Regions from separate parts of the Homo sapiens genome. Here region 2 is linked to region 1. The links are contacts of gene promoters, found by promoter capture Hi-C in human tissues and cell types (Jung and others, 2019). All regions are on one chromosome and are shown on one strand. Each heading gives the region's core, a stretch centred on a gene start or on the middle of the fragment in contact. The rest is flanking DNA. Distances are from core to core; before and after follow the strand shown. Region 1 holds the start of AMPD1 (adenosine monophosphate deaminase 1). Region 2 overlaps DENND2C (DENN domain containing 2C).

Region 1 (4,767 bases), core at 1,821-4,320:
AGGAGTTCGAGACCAACCTGGCCAATGGTGAAACCTCGTCTCTACTAAAAATACAAAAATTAGTCAGATGGGTGGTGGGCACCTGTAAACTCAGCTACTCAGGAGGCTGAGGCAGGAGAATCACTTGAACCCAGGAGGCAGAGGTTGCAGTGAGCTATCGCACCACTGCACTCCAGCCTGGGCAACACAGCAAGACTCCATCTCAAAAAATAAATAAATAAACAAACAAATAAATAAAATAGGTTTTTATTTTATCTGGTCACAAAAATGAACAACAATTTTTTTTTTTTTTTTTGCGCTGGAGTTGCTTTACTAAGGCAAGATTCAATAGGCCCCTTTGGCTAATCTATGTCATTTATTTCAAAATATTAAACAGGCTGGGTGTGGTGGCCCACACCTGTAATCCCAGCACTTTGTGAGGCTGAAGCGGGCAGATCACTTGAGGTCAGGAGTTCGAGACCAGCCTGGCCAACATGGTGAAACCCTGTCTCTACTAAAAATTAACCAGGTGTGGTGGTGTGCACCTGTCATCTCAGCTACTCGGGAGGCTGAGGCAAGATAATTAGTTGAATCCGGGAGGCAAAGGTTGCGATGAGCAGAGCTCACACCTCTGCACTCCATCCTGGGTGACCATCCATCTCAAAATAAATAAATAAATAAATAAATAAATAAATAAATAAATAAATAAATAAGTAAAAGCACTGCATGAGGTTTTCTTTTAAAAAATTATATATAATTATATATATATATATGTTTATACACACACTAGAATCCAGAAAAGCCATGAGCTTATTTGCTATGCTATGGGATATCTATGGTCATTATGAATCTTTGTTGACTTTCAAGGCTATTATTTAATAAACACTGCTGAAAAATAGCCATGTTTCTGAATTAAGGAATAGTATCATTTTTTTAAATTGATACTCTGACAAATGGCAGCAAAAGTAATGCAATACTCACGTTTCTCTTCAGCTGTATGAAGTAAAATAAAACAAGATAAAATATGTGAACAACTTTCTGTAATCATGGTGGCTATTAATCACTGCTTTGGGGTAGACACATGTAGATTGCTGTTATTTCAGCTCAGCCTTCCAGCTTGTCTACAGTTTTCTGCCATCAGAAAGCTTGGGAATATGGTCATTATACAGCTCTTCATTTTCTTTTCTTTTCTAATATGTCTCTTAACATTTATAAGTATACTTTTTAAAAGGCACTCTCTATAAAATATGATTTTTAAAAATATCTGATGAAGAAAGATGGGAATGCTCATATGATGTTGGTAGTAGTAAACTTAAAACAGCTCATTTGGTAAACAATTTAGTAACACCTACCAAACAACCATTTCTGAGAAGCTATCCTACGGAAATCATCCTTAAACATGGAAAAAGCTTTAGGTGTCAATATTGTTATCAGAACATACTTATACTTAAAAAAACCATAAAGAGGCCGGGTGCAGTGGCTCACGCCTATAATCCTGGTACTATGGGAGGCCGAGGCTGGCAGATCATGAGGTCAGGAGATCGAGACCATCCTGGCTAATACAGATATTCACTGTGTTATATGTGAAACACCGTCTCTACTAAAAATATAAAAATTAGCCGGGCGTGGTGGCAGGCGCCTGTAGTCCCAACTACTCGGGAGACTGAGGCAGAATGGCATGAACCCGGGAGGTGGAGCTTGCAGTGAGCCAAGATCGCACCACTGCACTCCAGCCTGGGTGACAGAGCGAGACTCTGTCTCTAAAAAAACAAAAACAAAAACAAAAACGAACAAACAAAAAAAAACCCCCAAACCATAAAGAACCTAAGGGATTAATTAAGAAAATAGAATATGCAGTCTTTTAAAATGGTTTTTAGGAAAGGTTTGGGATACCATGGTAAAAGGATAAGTTGTAAAGTTAAGCCAAAACATTATCCTGCCAAAAGCAGGATATAAAATTACATGTGCAATATAATAACAGTGCCTTTTTAAAAAAAACTCTTTAATTTTACACAGAAAATAGATTGAAAAGAAAAAAAAACACTAAAATGTTAAGAGTGAATATCTTTGGATAATGGATGTGCAGATTTTTAAAATTATTACTTTTGGCTGGGTGCAGTGGCTAACACTTGTAATCCCAGCACTTTGGGAGGCTGAGGCAGGCAGATTGCTTGAGCTCAGGAGTTTAAGATGAGCCTGGGCAACATAGCGAAACCCTGTCTCTACAGAAAATACAAAAACTAGCTGGGCGTGGTGGCAAGTGCCTGTAGTCCCAGCTACTCGGGAGGCTGAGGTGGGAGGATCACCAGATCCCAGAAGATTGGGGCTGCAGTGAATCGTGATCGTGCCACTGCACTCCAGCCTGGGCAACAGAGTGACACCCTGTCTCAAAAAATAAATAAATAAGTAAAAAATAAAATTATTACTTTTACTGAATTTCCCAACTTTCAAAACGAATGTTTATTACTTTTATTTTTTCAGCACAATTTCTATTTCACATGAAACATGTATTGCTTTTATCATTTAAAAATTATAACATTATTATTTTAAAAATTACTCTGCGTACAAACCTGGACAACAGAAAGCTATTCTCGTGAACCATCAGAATACACACATGGGTTATTTTTGTCATGTTCATGATTTTCAGCCAATACCATAGCTAGAGTCATTATGTAGAAGCCGTCTCAGAGCTATGGCAGCACAGGTTTTGTTTAGACTAGCAGAATAGATATTAAATATTTCACAGAGTTTTCTACTGGGATCATCAAAGATGCAATATACATGATAACAGTTTTAGAAACTTACCCACATCCCAAAACTAAAAACAAACAAAAAACCCTTGAAAATATTTTGTGTTTTCCTGAAATGTATGTTAAAGCTATCACGAACCCTAAATGAATGATCAAAGCTGATATGGTAGCTAAAGGAACAGTTGCTTGTCAAAAAAAAAAAAAAACAACAACAACTGAGCTCTCCAAACACTTTGTACACCTACCTGGGAGTTTGAACAGAGGCATTGTTGCTGAAATCCTTGATTCTAGGATAGCACAGTAGAAAAGAAGAGAGAGGAGACTGTGGGGTGACTGACTGACACTATAAAATATCCTGACATTCATTTTATTATTTTGCTTTGCCCCCGGAAATTTGATTCTTCTCTGCTAAGTGGAGAGAGATGAGCTTTGGACCTATTTATAGCTTGAGGCATTTGATAGTGAAAAACAGGTGAAGCTTTCAGTCTTTACTTTGGGATTAGAAGATATCTGTGGTGGGCCAAAAATTGCATTTCAATACTCTCTAAATCTTCTTACAGACTGGATCTTTGGCAAGTGTAGGACCACTGATGGTGATATCCCACCCTAGTGAAATACAGTGAAGTCTTTCCGGTTTCTGAAGCTATGATCCTCAGGGTTTCACATCACGCAAACAGCTTTCTGTGGTTGGTGAATATGCTGGTACATTCATCAAGCTCTCAACAGACACACACGCACACGCACACACGCTCAGGAATGCATGTTTTTATTAGTAATGTGTCTGACTTAGCAGAACTTCAGTTGACAGTTTAATGAATTAAGTGTTAAATTTACTTCAAGTCTTTTACAGAAACTCAACTGTCCTCCAGAGTATCCAGTTACCACTTCTCTACCTATTGTTATAATAAGAACAATAGCTTTGTTTTGTATAACATTTTATTGTATGTAAAACATTTGGCAAACATTATCTATTTGATACTAATTACAATCCTGTAAGGCAAGTAATACCTTATCCCTGTTTCCCAAATAAGAAAACTGGGGCTCTGACAGGTATCTTGCTCAAAGTCATTCTGTTCATCATAAATGGCAAAGCCAAGGCTCTCTGGACCCAAATCTCACGCTCTTTCCATAATAACACACAGTCTTAGTTATGACTGTATATATGTGTGTGTATATATATGTATATATGTATATATATGTGTATATACATATATTTTTTTCGAGACAGAGTCTCGCTCTGTTGCCCGGGCTGGAGTGCAGTGGCGCGATCTCGGCTCACTGCAAGCTCTGCCTCCCGGGTTCACGCCATTCTCTTGCCTGAGCCTCCCGAGTAGCTGGGACTACAGGCGCCTGCCACCATGCCCGGCTAATATTTTTTGTATTTTTAGTAGAGATGTGGTTTCACTGTGTTAGCCAGGATGGTCTTGATCTCCTGACCTCATGATCCACCTGCCTTGGCCTCCCAAAGTGCTGGGATTACAGGCGTGAGCCACTGCGCCCGGCCAGTTATGACTAAATATTTGATAGTTGCTGCTAGGTAAAGAAAGTACGCTGCTAGACTCAGCAGAAATTTTAAATTATAACAGCTTATATTGAAGATGAGCTTGGCACTTCAGATTAGCAACAGAATTATGGGCATAGACCAAATGATCTTTTTACTATTAACTATTTCTTTTTGAAAATTGGGACAAGCCTTTTTGTTGGCAAAACTTAACAATATTTTAGTGCTTAGCCTTATGGCCAACCTCTCAATCAACAATATTGCAACACATTACAAAGGTGTTACTGAACCAAAATATTTGTTCATTTCTTTCCAACTCCTTTTTGTTACATTTTTACCTGGATTTCCCAACAGTATCCACAAATTGATACATCCAAACCAAGCATCTTCCTCCATGAACCTGCTTCTCCTTCAGTAATTCCTATCTTTATATAAGTTACACTCCAATTTTCTCATTCCAATTGTGTAAATACCCTAGTTGCCTACCCAAAGATCATTTTCCCTACCTTTCTTACAAACAAAAACTTCTTTGGTTTG
Region 2 (4,864 bases), core at 291-2,790, 50 kb before region 1:
AGTAAATCAAGAAATATGTAAGAATCTTTAAAAAATAAATTTAATTCTTTAACAGTTCCATCAAGTCTGTTGAGATATTTGTCATGGAAATTTTTTCAGGTTTTTTAAAATGAAAGAATGAAAAATGATAGCTGACATATGCAGATTATATTCAGAATTTTGAGGCATAAGCCAAAGACTTAGAATAATGCTAATTTCATGATTGTGTTACATGGTTGGTTATCCGCACTATTCATAAAACCTTCCAAATGACTACAATTCCTTTTCTTTGCTGTTTACTGATTGTAACGGGTACTACTGGAGGGTTTATTTGCCACAGCTACATGACCCTAGGTGTTATCCCCATAACTAATCCAATGGTAATTCCTGTTAACTCCACCTTTAAAACAAATCAAATTCCCACCACTTATCATCTTTACTGCTAACACACCAAACCAGGCCACCATCACTTCTTCCTCTCTCATTTTCTATTTCTAGTCAATTTTCACCTTCTGTGTTCATTCTATCTAAAATAAAGCTCCTTTTCCAACATGATTTTCTATGTCTTCACTCTGCTATATTTTCTCCATAGAACTTATCATTTATCTGAAATTGTGTTATTTATTTGTTTACTTCTCTCCCTCACTGGAATATAAGCTTTTTTACTACTGTATCCCCAGCACCCAGAAGAGTATGCACCATACAGTAATCCCTCAGTAAGTATTTGTTGAATGAATGACAAAATCCTAAATATAAGAATGCTTAAAAGGAAAAGGCTTACGAAAAATCTGCAGTGCCTATTACTTTAAGTGCCTCCAATGATTTGAAGCTGCCCCATTTGTAGAATGGGGAAGCTTCTTAGAATAGTTTAAGAATACGAGTAACACCAAAATAACTTATTTAAATAATTCACACCACAATAAGAATGTTTTTTGTATATTTACTATTTGCCAAGCACTACATGCATAATCTCATTCTATCCTCATAACAATCCTTAGAGGAAGATATCTTCATTTTCTAGATGAGGAAACTGAGGTTTAGCAAGTTTCGATGGCTTTCTAAGGTCATATACGTTGTTACAATTTGAAAAGCATAATTTAATAGCACATAACATACTACCTTCAGGATAGAAAGACATTTTGAGAAGGGGCAATATCTAAGTCAGGGGTCTCCAATGAAGAAAATAATTGATTTATATGTATTTATTTATAAATTGTAAACATAAAACTATAATAATATCATGAACATTATAAAGCATACTGAAACTAAAAATTTAAAGGCATGAGATTTAAAAAATCATTTTACTAGTTTAAATTAGTAAAAATTAAATATGTAAAAGGAGGGTATAGTAACCATTTCATTCTCACTGAAGTTTAACTACAAATATTTTGAGTAAGAGCAATGTGATTAAACGTGGTTTTTTTTGATACAGTGATTCAAAGATTTAGTCCAAAACTCAGTTTATTTCAATACTTGGTTCTAAGGGTGTTATAGATCGAACCGTGTCCCCTGAAAATTCATATGTTGAAGTCCTAACCCCCAGCACCTCAGAATATGACTGGATTTGGAGATCAGGTCTCTTGAGAGGTAATTAAGTTAAAATGAGGTCAGTAGGGTGGGCCTTAATCCAATGACTGGTGTACTTCGAAAAAAAGAGGAAACCTAGACACAGACAGACAGAGGGGAGACCATGTGAAGACACAGGGAGAAGACTGCTATCTACGAGCCAAGGAAACAGGCCTCACAAGAAACTTACCCTGTTGGCACCTTGATGTTAGATTTCTACAGCCTCCAGACTTGTGAGAATATCAATCTCTGGCGTTTGAACCACTCAATCTGCGGTATTTGGTTATGGTAGACCTAGCAAACTAATACAAAAGGCCACAGTAATAGAAAAAGATAACTCACCACAAATACATGGAAAACAATGAAAGAAGAGCTTCACTGACTGAATCAGAATACTTATTTGTCAATTCTATTCACCTTAAATTAAGCAAGGATTTTTGTTGAAATTTGACTAGTAAATTTTCATCTTCTCTAATGTTTATCATCTGTACTTTCAAACTAACTGAACATTTAAAAATTTTTAACAAACTGATTCAAAATCTAAGTGTGTAGATAGGAGAGCTTTACAGATAACACATTCTTTGTTTTGGGCAACATTAAGTAATAATTGATATATTATGAAATATCAAATTTTGTCTGCAAATCATGTTTCTTTAGAAAAACAATTTCTCATTCTTTTTTTTTTTTGAGACAGAGTCTCGCTCTGTCGCCCAGGCTGGAGTGCAGTGGCGCCGTTTTGGCTCACTGCAAGCTCTGCCTCCCGGGTTCACGCCATTCTCCTGCCTCAGCCTCCTGAATAGCTGGGACTACAGGCGCCCGCCACCACACCCGGCTAATTTTTTTGTATTTTTAGTAGAGACGGGGTTTCACCATGTTAGCCAGGATGGTCTCGATCTCCTGACCTTGTGATCCGCCTGCCTCAGCCTCCCAAAGTGCTGGGATTACAGGTGTGAGCCACTGCGCCCGGCCTGTTATTCATTGTTAAAACATCATGTTTACCTCGTAGGGACACACTGAACATGTTTAAGATAATTTTTTGCTGACAACCACTTGTCATTACAGAAAATCAACAATTTTAGAACACTTTTCTTTGGAAAAGGAAAATGGTGTGACATTTTAAGTTTTGCAACTTTAAAAAATACTTTTCCATAACGTAATCAAAAAACTAGTGTGCGATATATTTTCATGACTGTGACACTTCTCATTTTCAAAGGATTATAATGATTCTATTATTTAAGATATAATCTGTAAATCCACCTACTTGGACACATATGAACTGCTCTATGTTGCAACAGCTAAAAGTGCACAAACAAGTGAGGATGTCACCGCCAACTCCGTTTTGTTTGAGGGAATGTCTACTCTTCCCTTGGGGATCATTCCTTATATAAAGTCTGATCCAGAGAAAGCACCAGTGTCAAACTGTATATTAAATATTTAGAAAAGCTTAATTTATTTTTAGATGAAAATGAATACAAGTAGCATTTCTAATGCTTTTTTCACATCCTAATGTACCATCTTGTGTACCTCTGGTAGATCATGAGTCCATAATAAGGTATTCTGACTTACACATGCATTAGCTTTAATGTTCACCATTTCACCTAGGTAAACAGAGAATATTTAGGGCAGGCACGGTAGCTCATGCCTGTAATCCCAGCACTTTGGGAGGCTGAGGTGGGAGGATCACCTGAGGTCGGGAGTTTGAGACCAGCCTGGCCAACATGGCGAAACCCTGTCTCTACTAAAAATACAAAAATAAGCTGGACGTGGTGGTGCATGCCTGTAATCCCAGCTACTCAGGGGGCTGACGCAGGAGAACTGCTTCAACCCTGGAGGCACACAGGTTGCAGTGGGCCAAGATTGCACCACTGAACTCCAGCCTGGGCAAAAGAGTGAGATTCTATCTTAAAAAAAAAAAGAGAGAGAGAGAGAGAGAGAATATTCAGGGGTCTGCTAAAATAACCAGGTGGCCAAAAGTTGTATGAATATATAATGTAAACAACCCTTTCCTTTGTTTACTCAGAAGAAGGAAGAATTATTTCTTTTTTAATTTTTATTTTTAACTGATCAATTCCAATTGTGTATGTTTATGGAGTACAATGTGATTTTTTTTTTTTTTAGACAGAGTCTTGCTCTGTCACCGAGGCTGGGTGCGTGATCTCGACTCCCTGCAACCTCTGCCTCTCGGGTTCAATAATCCACTATTGTACAACCTGGTGACAATAGTCTCTAATATTCTCCTGGTTTCTCAAGCCATTTAGTTGGCTTCTAAATCACTTCTTTATACCATTAGGTAATGTTTGTGAAAGGAATGCACTGCCAAGTCTGGCTAATTTTTGTATTTTTAGTAGAGACGGGGTTTTGCCATGTTGGCCAGGCTGGTCTGTGACCCCTAACCTCAAGTGATTCGCCTGCCTCAGCCTCCCAAAGTGCTGAGATTACAGATGTGAGCCACTACGCCTGACCTGTATAGCATATATTTTAAATAATTATTACTTATTAAGTGTTTACATTTGCCAGGCACCATGCTATGTATCTACTTTCATTACTACTTTTAACTCTTTTTTTTTTTGAGACAGTCTCACTGTTGTCACCAGGGCTAGAATGCAATGGCGCCATCTTGGCTCACTGCAAACTCTGCTTCCCAGGTTCCAGCAATTCTCCTGCCTCAGCCTCCCGAGTAGCTGAGATTACAGGTGCCCTCCACCATGCGCAGCTAATTTTTGTATTTTTAGTAGAGGCATGGTTTCACCATGTTGGCCAGGCTGGTCTCAAACTCCTGACCTCAGGTGATCCACCCGCCTTGGCCTCCCAAAGTGCTGGGATTACAGGCGTGAGTCACCGCGCCTGGCCTTCATTTAATTCTTACAACAACCCTAACAGATAGTTACTATTACCTGCAATAGTAGAAAGTTTTATTATTTTGTGAATGGGGAAGCTGAAGCTGAACTGGTTAATTACCCAAACTAACACAAACCTAGTTCTACTTTACTCCAAAGTTTGTGCACTAAACCACTGTATATTATACTACTTGTTAGTTGGTAGACATAACAATAATATAAACTAATGCAACAGGATGTCAAATGCAACTTTTCCTGTGTTCTCCGAGTTTCAGCAGGGCCTCAAAGGCCAAAACCAAAACAATAGGAGTCGAATACCCCCATATTCTAAGAAAAGTGCAAGGCTTAGAAAGTGAGGTTGCCAAAAATTGGCTCTGCTGACATTAGTTCACTACCCTTAAGGCTGTATAAGAGAAGAATTACAATTTATTAAATTGTGAGGATTACAAGGGACAACAGAGAGGACTTCTTTAAGGAAACTA

What was found. Contacts are between HindIII fragments. The study calls those that stand out against the background at their distance.
Region 2: a contact is called between a fragment that was not itself captured here and the fragment with the promoter of AMPD1 in region 1, in 1 of the 25 tissues and cell types used here (psoas muscle).

The regions. Positions count from the first base shown.
Region 1 is chr1:114,692,476-114,697,242 of GRCh38, forward strand. AMPD1 (adenosine monophosphate deaminase 1) reads right to left here and starts at 3,071. Exons shown (of 16, transcript NM_000036.3): 1 at 2,975-3,071; 2 at 961-972. The coding sequence starts at 2,996. The HindIII fragment of the contact is 10,350 bases long and covers 1-4,767 here.
Region 2 is chr1:114,643,713-114,648,576 of GRCh38, forward strand. It overlaps DENND2C (DENN domain containing 2C), which reads right to left. Exons shown (of 21, transcript NM_001256404.2): 3 at 1,736-1,847. Among named protein-coding and RNA genes, the nearest start is that of DENND2C, 24 kb to the right of the region's middle. The HindIII fragment of the contact is 5,072 bases long and covers 1-4,076 here.